Regions from separate parts of the Homo sapiens genome. Here region 1 is linked to region 2. The links are contacts of gene promoters, found by promoter capture Hi-C in blood cells and fetal thymus (Javierre and others, 2016). All regions are on one chromosome and are shown on one strand. The core of a region is centred on a gene start or on the middle of the fragment in contact, and the rest is flanking DNA. Distances in the headings are between cores, read along the strand shown. Region 1 overlaps NEMF (nuclear export mediator factor). Region 2 holds the start of LINC01588 (long intergenic non-protein coding RNA 1588).

Evidence for each region. The method cuts DNA at HindIII sites, captures the fragments that hold promoters and counts their contacts. A CHiCAGO score of 5 or more calls a contact.
Region 1: a fragment that was not itself captured here is called in contact with the fragment with the promoter of LINC01588 in region 2 in 8 of 17 cell types (activated CD4 T cells, naive CD8 T cells, total CD4 T cells and 5 more); the score reaches 10.1 in activated CD4 T cells.

What each region holds. Positions count from the first base shown.
Region 1 is chr14:49,844,023-49,848,671 of GRCh38, reverse strand. NEMF (nuclear export mediator factor) reads left to right here. Exons shown (of 33, transcript NM_004713.6): 4 at 2,407-2,532. Among named protein-coding and RNA genes, the nearest start is that of NEMF, 6.4 kb to the left of the region's middle. The HindIII fragment of the contact is 733 bases long and covers 2,334-3,066 here.
Region 2 is chr14:50,004,619-50,009,666 of GRCh38, reverse strand. It overlaps LINC01588 (long intergenic non-protein coding RNA 1588), which reads left to right and starts at 2,147. Exons shown (of 4, transcript NR_126498.1): 1 at 2,147-4,073. It overlaps LINC01599 (long intergenic non-protein coding RNA 1599), which reads left to right. Exons shown (of 9, transcript NR_131171.1): 9 at 2,248-2,354. RefSeq lists an enhancer at 1-309. The HindIII fragment of the contact is 14,705 bases long and covers 1-5,048 here.

The sequences.
Region 1 (4,649 bases), core at 1,451-3,950, 160 kb after region 2:
GTAGAGATGGGGTTTCACCATGTTGGCCAGGCTGGTCTTGAACTCCTGACGTTGTGATCCGCCTGCCTCGGCCTCCCAGAGTGCTGGGATTACAGGCGTGAGCTGCCATACCCAGACCGTATTTGAGTCTTGAAGAAAGCATTCTTTCTTATTGGTCTTAACTAAAGGGTCTTTTATATTAAAAAATTAGAAACAATTGTAAGATATTTTAGAGGCTACAGAGTAGTCTTGTTACCAGTCCATGTCATACTTCAATATTTGTACAAAAAGACGGTACATGTAATCTAAAAGAGTAGGTATTGCCAAGTAAATTGTATTTGGATTTGATATACTAATATTATTTTAATTGTTAATAAGAAAAAGAACCTTATGGCCAGGGATAGGAGGAAGGGGATTTAATAAAGAATGAGAGTTATTACATTGGATTGAAATAGGTTATCAAAAGCTTAGAGACGATACCAGGAAAATTCTCTTTGGGTTATATTAGTAAAGTTTGTAGGAATAAGCTGGGCACAGTGGCAGGGCACTTGTAATCCTAGCTACTTGGGAGGCTAAGGTGGGAGATTGCTTGAGTCCAGGAGTTTGAGCCTTGCCTGGGCAACAGAGAGACTCTGTCCCTTTCTTTTTTTTTTTTTTTTTTGAGACAGAGTCTTGCTCTGTTGCCCAGGCTGGATTGCAGTAGTGTCATCTCGGCTCACTGTAACCTCCGCCTCTTGGGTTCAAGCGATTCTTTTGCCTCAGCCTCCTGAGTAGCTGGGATTACAGGCATGCGCCAGCACGCCCAGCTAATTTTTGTATTTTTAGTAGAGATGGGGTTTCACCATATTGGCCAGGCTGGTCTTGAACTCCTGACCTCAAGTGATCCACCTACCTCGGCCTCCCAAAGTGTTGGGATTACAGGCCTGAGCCACCGCTCCTGGCAAAGACTCTCTTAAAGAAAAAAAAAAAAAAAAAAAAAAAAAAAAGAATTGGTAGGGGTAACTGGATATAAGGTGGTGGACTATTTACAGGATACCATAAGCCATAAGCTCATGGTCCATAGTTGATATGTATTAGAAGTAGAAGATTAGTGGAAACAATTAATTAATTTTGAACATAAATGAAGCATACAAAAGGGAAATTTGGCATACTTAGAAGTGTCATCAAAGAGACTTAAAAAAAATAAAGGGACTGGGTGTGGTGGCTCACGCCTGTAATCCTAACACTTTGGGAGGCCGAGGTGGGCAGATTGCCTGAGCTCAGGAGTTCGAGACCAGCCTGGGCAACGTGGAGAAACCCCGTCTCTACTAAAATACAAAAAATTAGCCAGGCGTGGTAGTGGGCGCCTGTAGTCCCAGCTACTCTTGGGAGGGTGAGGCAGGAGGATTGCTTGAACCTGGGAGGCAGAAGTTGCAGTGAGCCAAGATTGTGCTACTGTACTCCAGCCTGGGTGACAAAGTGAGACTCCGTCTCCAAATAAATAAATAAATAAATAAATAAGTAAAGGTTGGCTGGGCACAGTGGCTCATGCCTGTAATCCCAGCACTTTGGGAGGCTGAGGTGGGCGGATCACGAGGTCAGAACTTCGAGACCAGCCTGACCAACATGGTGAAACCCCGTCTCTACTAAAAATAGAAAAATTAGCCGGGTGTGGTGGCACACGCCTGTAATTTCAGCTACTCAGGAGGCTGAGGCAGGAGAATCACTTGAACCTGGGAGGCGGAGGTTGCAGTGAGCTGAGACTGTGCCACTGCATTCCAGTCTGGGCGACAGAGCGAGACTCTCTCTCAAAATAAAGTAAATAAATAAAGGTTGTGGCTTATGAGTGAGGTCATTAGGACCACAACAAGGAATTTAGCAGTGGTATAAAGCAACAAAGCAAATTTTGCTATAGGTCCATCATTCTCTACTTAAAAATTGAAAATAAAAGCCTGGCTCAGTAGCTTACGCTTGTAATCCCAGCACTTTGGGAGGCCAAGGCAGGAGGATTGCTTGTGCCCAGGAGTTTGAGATTAGCCTGGGCAACATAGTGAGACCCTGTCTCTACAAATAATGAAAAAATTAGCTGGGGATAGTGGCATGTGCCTGTGGTCCCAATCCTCAGGAGGCTGATGCAGGAGGATCACCTGAGCCAGGGAAGTCGAGGCTGCAGCGAGCCATGATCACACCACTGGGCTCCAGTTTGGGTGACAGAGTGAGACCCTGTCTTAAAAAAATGCAAATAAAACACTGTTTCAGAGTTAGTGTTTATAATAAAATGTTTTCCCTCTGATTATCATCTGCAATCTATTACTTTATGACTATACTGTTATTCACAACGTTTTAAATATTCCTGATGATAATGAAAAGAAGCTTATTTATAAACCAATACCAAATGGTTAGGAATTCACTTTTACTAAATGAATGCCTTTTTCTTTCTCTTGCTAGTGCCGAAAACATTTGAAGAGTCGGAGATTAGTCAGTGCAAAACAGCTTGGTGTGGATAGAATTGTAGATTTTCAATTTGGAAGTGATGAAGCTGCTTACCATTTAATCATTGAGCTCTATGATAGGGTAAGTTAAATTTGTGGGATATGGTGAAGGAAAATTTCTTATTAATCATTTTGTAATAGTGCTATATAACATGAGTGGGGGAACATTTTTTTTCTGTGTCAAAGGTTGTTACTACCCTAGGAAATGGGTGCCACACAAATAAAATAAAATTTTCCAGTAATAACCTTCATTTTATCTGTAGGTCTGAGTTTAGGCAGACTTTAGCCATTTAGAATAGCCTTATGAATGTAGGAGATGAAGATCTGAGAAGTAAATTATTTGGTACTTGACATTTCAGGACTAATATGCAACCAGAAAATAGTCAAATACGGTCATGCACTGATGCGCTGTATGTATAGTGATGTTTCAGTCAACAACAGACTGCATATAAACGTTGGTCCTGTAACATTGTAATGGATCTAATAAATTCTTACTGCTTAGTGACATCTTGATCCTGACTCTGTGTAGGCCTAGGCTGGTGTGTGAGTTTGTGTGTTAGTTTTTAACAAAAACATTAAAAGTAAAAACAAAACAATTTAAAATGGAAAAAAAGCTTAGAGAATATGGATCTAAAGAAAGAAAGTATTGTACAGCTGTACGATATGTGTTTTAAGCTAAGTGTTATTACAAGAGTCAAAAAGCTAAAAAGTTTAAAGTTTATAAAGTAAAAAAGTTCCAGGAAGCAAAGGTTAATTTATTATTGAAGAAAGAAAAACATCTTAAAAATAAATTTGGCTGAGCGCAATGACTCAGGCCGGGCACAGTGGCTCACACCTGTAATCCTAGCATTTTGGGAGGCCGAGGAGGGCGGATCACCTGGGGTCAGATCACCTGGGGTCAGGAGTTCAAGACCAGCCTGGCCAACATGGCAAAACCCCGTCTCTATTAAAAAATACAAAAATTAGCTGGGCGTGGTGGCGGGCACCTATAATCCCAGCTACTCGGGAGGCTGAGGCAGGAGAATCACTTGAACCTGGGAGGCAGAGGTTCCAGTGAGCTCAGATTGTGTCACTGTGCTCCAGCCTGGGCAACGGAGCAAGACTTTGTCTCAAAAATAAACTAACTAACTAACTAACTAACTAACTTAATCTGGGCCAGGTGTGGTGGCTCACACCTGTAATCCCAGCACTTTGGGAGGCCAAGGCGAGTGGATCACCTGAGGTCAGGAGTTTGAGACCAGCCTGCCCAATGTGGCAAAACTGCATCTCTACTAAAAATACAAAAATTAGCCTGGTGTGGTGGTGCGTGCCTGTAGTCCCAGCTACTCGGGAGGCTGAGGCAGGAGAATCACTTGAACCTGGGAGGCAGTGGTTGCAGTGAGCTGAGATCATGCCATTGTACTCCAGCTCAGGTGACAGAGTGAGATTCAGTCTCAAAAAGGAAAAAAAAAATATATGTGTGTGTGTGTGTGTGTGTGTGTGTGCGCGCGCGTGCGCGTGCGTGTGTATGTATATAAATAAATAAATACATAAATTTAATCTGGTCTGAGGTAAGCATAATTTTTTTAAAAATTAAAAAATAAAAAACAAATTTAGTGTAGCCCAAGTGTGCAGTATTTATCAAGTCTACAGTAGTATGCAGTAATGTCCCAGGCCTTCACATTTACTCACTGTCACTCACCCAGAGCAGTTTTCAGTCCTGCATGCTCCATTCATGGTAAGTGCCCTATACAGGTGTTCCATTTTTAATCTTTTATACCAGGGATCTTCAACCCCTGTGCCGCAGACTGGAACTGGTCTGTGGAACCAGGCCACACGGCAGGAGGTGAGCAGTATGCGAGTGAGCATTACTCACCTGAGCTCTGCCTCCTGTCAGATCAGTGGTGGCATTAGATTCTTATAGGAGCGTGAACCCTATTGTGAACTGTGCATGCAAGGGATCTAGGTTGCATGCTTCTTGCGAGAATCTAATGCCTGATGATCTGAGGTGGAACAGTTTCATCCGGAAACCATACCCCTGCACCCCCCATCCATGGAAAAATTGTCTTCCATGAAACTGGTCCCTGGTGCCAAAGGCTGGGGACTGCGGTTTTTTTTTTGTTTTGTTTTGGTTTTTTTTTTTTGATACAGAGTCTCACTTTGTTGCCCAGGCTGCAGTGCAAGGGTGTGATCTCAGCTCACTGCAACCTCTGCCTCCCG
Region 2 (5,048 bases), core at 898-3,397:
TACGTATTTTTAGAGATGGGGTCCAGCTATGTTGCCCAGGCTGGTCTCAAACTCCTGGCCTCAAGTGATCCTCCCTCCTCAGCCTCTCAAAGTGCTGGGATTACAGGCTGGAGCCACTGTGCTGGTCACACATTGCTTTTGATTGCTAGAAACCAGTTTATACTTCAGACTTGAGCCAGCTGGTGATCAGTTCTCTTTAAATTGCAAATGATATAAACTCCAATTCAAATGGACTTCAGCAAAAAAGATAATTCATCAGCACATATAACTGGAAGTTCAGGGGCTTCACATACTGCTGAATTCGGGTGCTTCGACCGGTCATCAGGACTCAGCTCTCAGAGTTGCCTTGTCTCTGTGGCTCTTCCTCTCCCGAGAGTGGCAAGATGGCTACCGGCATCCTTAGGGTCACACTGGAACAGGTTAGAAGTTCCTGTGGAAAGCTAGACACTTTCCCAATAGTTACAAATATTACATACATATATATACAAAGCGTCCTGGGACTGACTCATTTAACTGACACGTACCAGTCCCTGAAGGCCTTGTTGATTGGCCAGGCCTGGGTCAGTCCTGAATCTGGGTGGGGTCAGCCTCACCAGAACAGCACAGTGAGTTTGGGGGTAGGGGGACGGAATATGCAAAGAAAAGCCAGGACAACACTAAGCAGACAAAATAAAGGTTTTTTTTTCCCCCTATTACAACCAAGGCCACCTGGATTTCATAATTCCTGCCCAGGAGGCAAACCTGGCTCACTAATTTCAGTGTTCTTTATTAAAGACACACACAGCAGAGACAGAGGAAGAGAAACCAGAAGAGGGAGGTGAGGATGGAGCCTCTAAGGGCAAGAATGCATTCTTTTTTTTTTTTTTGAAATTTTGTTTTCGTTTGAGACAGGGTCTCACTCTGTCACCCAAGATAGAGTGCAGTGGCACAATCACAGCCCACTGCAGCCTCAACCTCCCTGGGTTCAGGCAATCCTCCCACTGCAGCAACCTCCCCAGTAGCTGGGACTACAGGTGCATCCTCATGCCTGGCTAATTTTTGTGGTTTTTTTTTTTTTTTTTTTTAGAGATGGCGTTTTGCCATGGTGCCCAGGCTGGTCTCAAACTCCCAGGCTCAAGTGACCCACCCACCTTGGCCTCCCTAAGTGCTGGGATTACAGGCATAATCATGGCACCCAACTGAGCGCTGCAAGGGTCTTTTCCAAGCTGAGTGCTGTAAGGGTCTGGGTTAGGCAAGGAAGACACTAAGGGTGTGGCCACTTGCTGTACAGTGGAGCAGGGGCCTTAGAACTACATAGAAGAATGCAAGCAAGCTCCCCCTTTCTCTGGAGAAACAGCATCTCTATTTTCCAAGCATACATGCTATACCAGCATCCTTGGAAAGATGATCAAATAAAAGACAGACAGTGTGTCTGCTTGCAAGATATACAGAAATGTGGCCAGGCACGGTGGCTCATGCCTGTAATCCCAGCACTTTGGGAGGCTGAGGCGGGCAGATCACGAGGTCAAGAGATTAAGACCATCCTGGCCAACATGGTGAAACCCCATCTCTACTAAAAATTAAAATATTAGCTGGGCGTGGTGGCATGCACCTGTAGTCCCAGCTACTCGGGAGGCTGAGGCAGGAGAATCGCTTGAACCCATGAGGCGGAGGTTGCAGTGAGCCGATCATGCCACTGCACTCCAGCCTGGTGACAGAGCGAAACTCCATCTCAAAAAAAAAAAAAAAGGAAATATATAGAAGAATGCCTTCTGAATAATCATTTCTTTTTTGAAATTGTGGCAAAATCTCCCTGGACTCAAGGGATGGGTGTAAAAAGCAGTTAGGCAGAGGATGAGGGCCTGTGCCTGAGGCGTCCAAGGGCAGCCCCAGCTCCCTGCAGATCCAGTGCAGCGGGATGTGCAGGTAGATCTCCCTCCCCAGGGCACAAAGCTGGGTGGGGAACAGCTGTCAGAACCAGCCACACCCCACCCCACCCTGCCCAGGCATCAGAAACCTCAGGGAAATGCCTAGATACTCCACCTCAAGGAAAACATTGAGGCCCTGTAGCCAGGAGTGCCCTGTTTGTGTCTAAAAGTTGCCCCAGCCCAAATTTACAGCTGGGAGGATCAGAAGGGCAATCTCTGTCTTCTCCCAAAAGGAAATCATACCCATAGTTACCACTGGGAGCAGGGTGGGCCGTTTACACTCCTCATCCTACCTCGCCATCACCTTAGGAAGCAGCCATTCTCCTTGTCTTTACTGTAGAGGAGGAAGCCTGGACAGCCTGCAGTTGAGGGGACCTGCACAAGCTCACAGGACTCTTCATCACCATGACACCACGCTCACCGCAAAATAAAAATGATCAAACCTGTCATGATGTCAGCAGCACCGGTGTTGGTCTTTGTGGGAAAGAAAAACACAGGCCAGGGCTGCAGCACGATTGTGTCTGCCCAGCTCTTGCAGCCTGGAGAACACCGTTGGATTCCCTCCCACACATGCTCCCAGGCTGCCTGCCTGCCTCACTTACCTGCTCAGGGTGGGGCTTGAGGGTGGCCCCTGGGAAGAGTAAGAACTGGCCAAGACTGAGATGTCCTTCCCTCATTTAAGGTACCGCCTTTTCCCTTTTCCCGCCATCCTGGGTGCATGGATACTTGGGATTAGAAACTGGACTGGAAATGTAATCTTTCTTCGGTTTGGGGCTGAGAACTGGGGATTAGTAGGATTTTGAGTTTATGGCACAGCCTTTTCTTACACCATTTCCTAAAAAGCAGTTAAGATTACACCAGGCACAGTGGCTTACGCCTATAATCTCAGCACTTTGGGAGGCTGAGGCAGGTGGATCAAGACCAGCTTAACCAACATGGTGAAACCCCATCTCTACTAAAAATACAAAAATTAGCTGGGCGTGGTGGCACGCATTTGTAGTCCCGGCTACTTGGGAGGCTGAGGCAGGAGAATTCCTTGAACCCGGGAGGCGGAGGTTGCGGTGAGCTGAGATTGCACCATTGCACTCCAGCAGCCTGGGCAACAGCAACGAAACTCCGTCTCAAAAAAAAAAAAAAATTACAGTCATCTCCCAGAAAAATCAAGAAGGAAGAACCTTGGAGGTTCAACCTATAGAAGATATGTTCTCATGGAATAAACCAAAAATAATTTTTATTTTCTAAAAAATCAAGAACAGAAGTCTCTCAACATTTAAGTTTTACAAACAAATAGAATCTGAGCCACTGGGTTAAACATGACAAACGACACACAGTAACAAATATTGAAGACATCATAATGCCAAAGCAACAGAAGCAGCACCAGAAATGTTGCTGAGGCCACCATTTAATTAACGCAAGTTGAACATATGGCTTTGGTTACATGTGGTTCCAGGCCAGAGGCATGGAAGTCAGTGTTTGTGGGAAAGCCAGGAGGAAAAGCTCCTCTCCCCACCTCCACCTTGTCACTCCAGGTTCTGGTGACCCCATCTCGGGACACGGCCTCCCATTTCACTCCTGCACCAACCCCACTCTTGTAACACTGCACATGCAAGATGTGAGCATCTTCAAAGTACGAATATTGCCTTCTTCATTTTAGAATCCATGATGTGCTTGTGGGGAGAATGAATGAATGCTCAAACATGAATGGAGAGAGACAGAGAGGAAGTGCAGGTCTAACCAAGGAAACCTTCTTTCCTAGAAAATCGTTGATGAGCCCGGAAAGAGTTGGCTGAACAACGGTAACAATTCTTTTATTATTATTTAACTTATTAAGTTATTAGAAAAAGTAAAAGAGTGAGTCGAGGTTTTTGGATTGGAAGTAGGGACCCACTGAGTTCCCTCCAGGATTGTGGAGTTTCTTTTACAGCCACATGTGGATAAGAAACTAAGGGCCACAGACCAAATGACAGGTCGGATGGCAACCCTGGAAAAGTCACACAGCTCAGCCTGTTGGAGGAAGAGGAGCAGTAGAACCTGTGTGGAGCCTGACAGAACCCAAGATGCCATTCACGAACCGAGAGGTCTTTCAAGATCACACACAGTTCTACGACACAGACATTTCGTCTTCTTGCCACTCAGTAGCGGGGCCCATCCCTCTGTGCCTCCAAGGTCCGTGTGCCATGTGGAAAACTCAGGTGTTCTGTCTCTGCCAGGACCTTCTTCCTGCTGCTTATTTAAGTGTCTGCTGCTTCGGGGCCTCAGGTGCCTGCTTTATCTCTTTCTCCTTTACTATCAAGTCTTTAAGCAATTTGCCAAGACGGAGAATCTCACTGGCCTGGTGGGGCTGAGCCTTCCTTCACTGGCTGACCAACTGGGAAGTGGGCTGCTGCCTAGATCAGGTGCGTGCCACAGTTCATCTAGCCGTGCCCAGAGTTCTAAGGTTATGCGCATGACCCCGTGTGTGGGCAGAGGCTCTTAGCAGGGGCCGAGAGCATTGGAGGCATCTTGAGGGCCAGAGTCCCCAGCCCCAGATCACAGATACGGCATGATCAAAATGTGAGGGAGCAGGGGCAGAGATTATTTGGAATAACGTGCTGAGTTTGTATACTTTTGACAATTAAAAGCCCTATGTCCCCCTGATGTTACGCATATGCTCCAGAGGAGCCACTCGGGACAAAGAATCAATAATGGGCGCTTGGTGTGCATTGAAAGCTGACAGTGTATATTTGTGGGGACTATACAGGGAAAGGAATATGAAGCCTTGACAAGATATGGTGAGTATGTATCGGTGAGGTAGGTAACTCATTCATAAGGGACTTTGCAAGGTGGCAACACTGGTTCAAAGATATTACGAGAATAAAGATTTTGTGTACTCAGAGAACGAAAAGGAATGCTGACGTAAGATCACAAAGTTAGATACTAAACTGGCTAATGTGCTACAGGGCAGCAAAACTATAACCTTTGAGGTAATTTATCTGACCAGATAGGAATCATTTGCATCTCTGTAGAACAGAAAAACACTTACTTTTTTTTTTTTTTTTTTTTTTTTGAGACAGTATCTGGCTCTGTCCCCCAGGCTGGCGTGCAGTAGCATGATCTTGGTTTACTGCAACCTCCACCTCCTAGGCTCAAGCCATCCTCCCA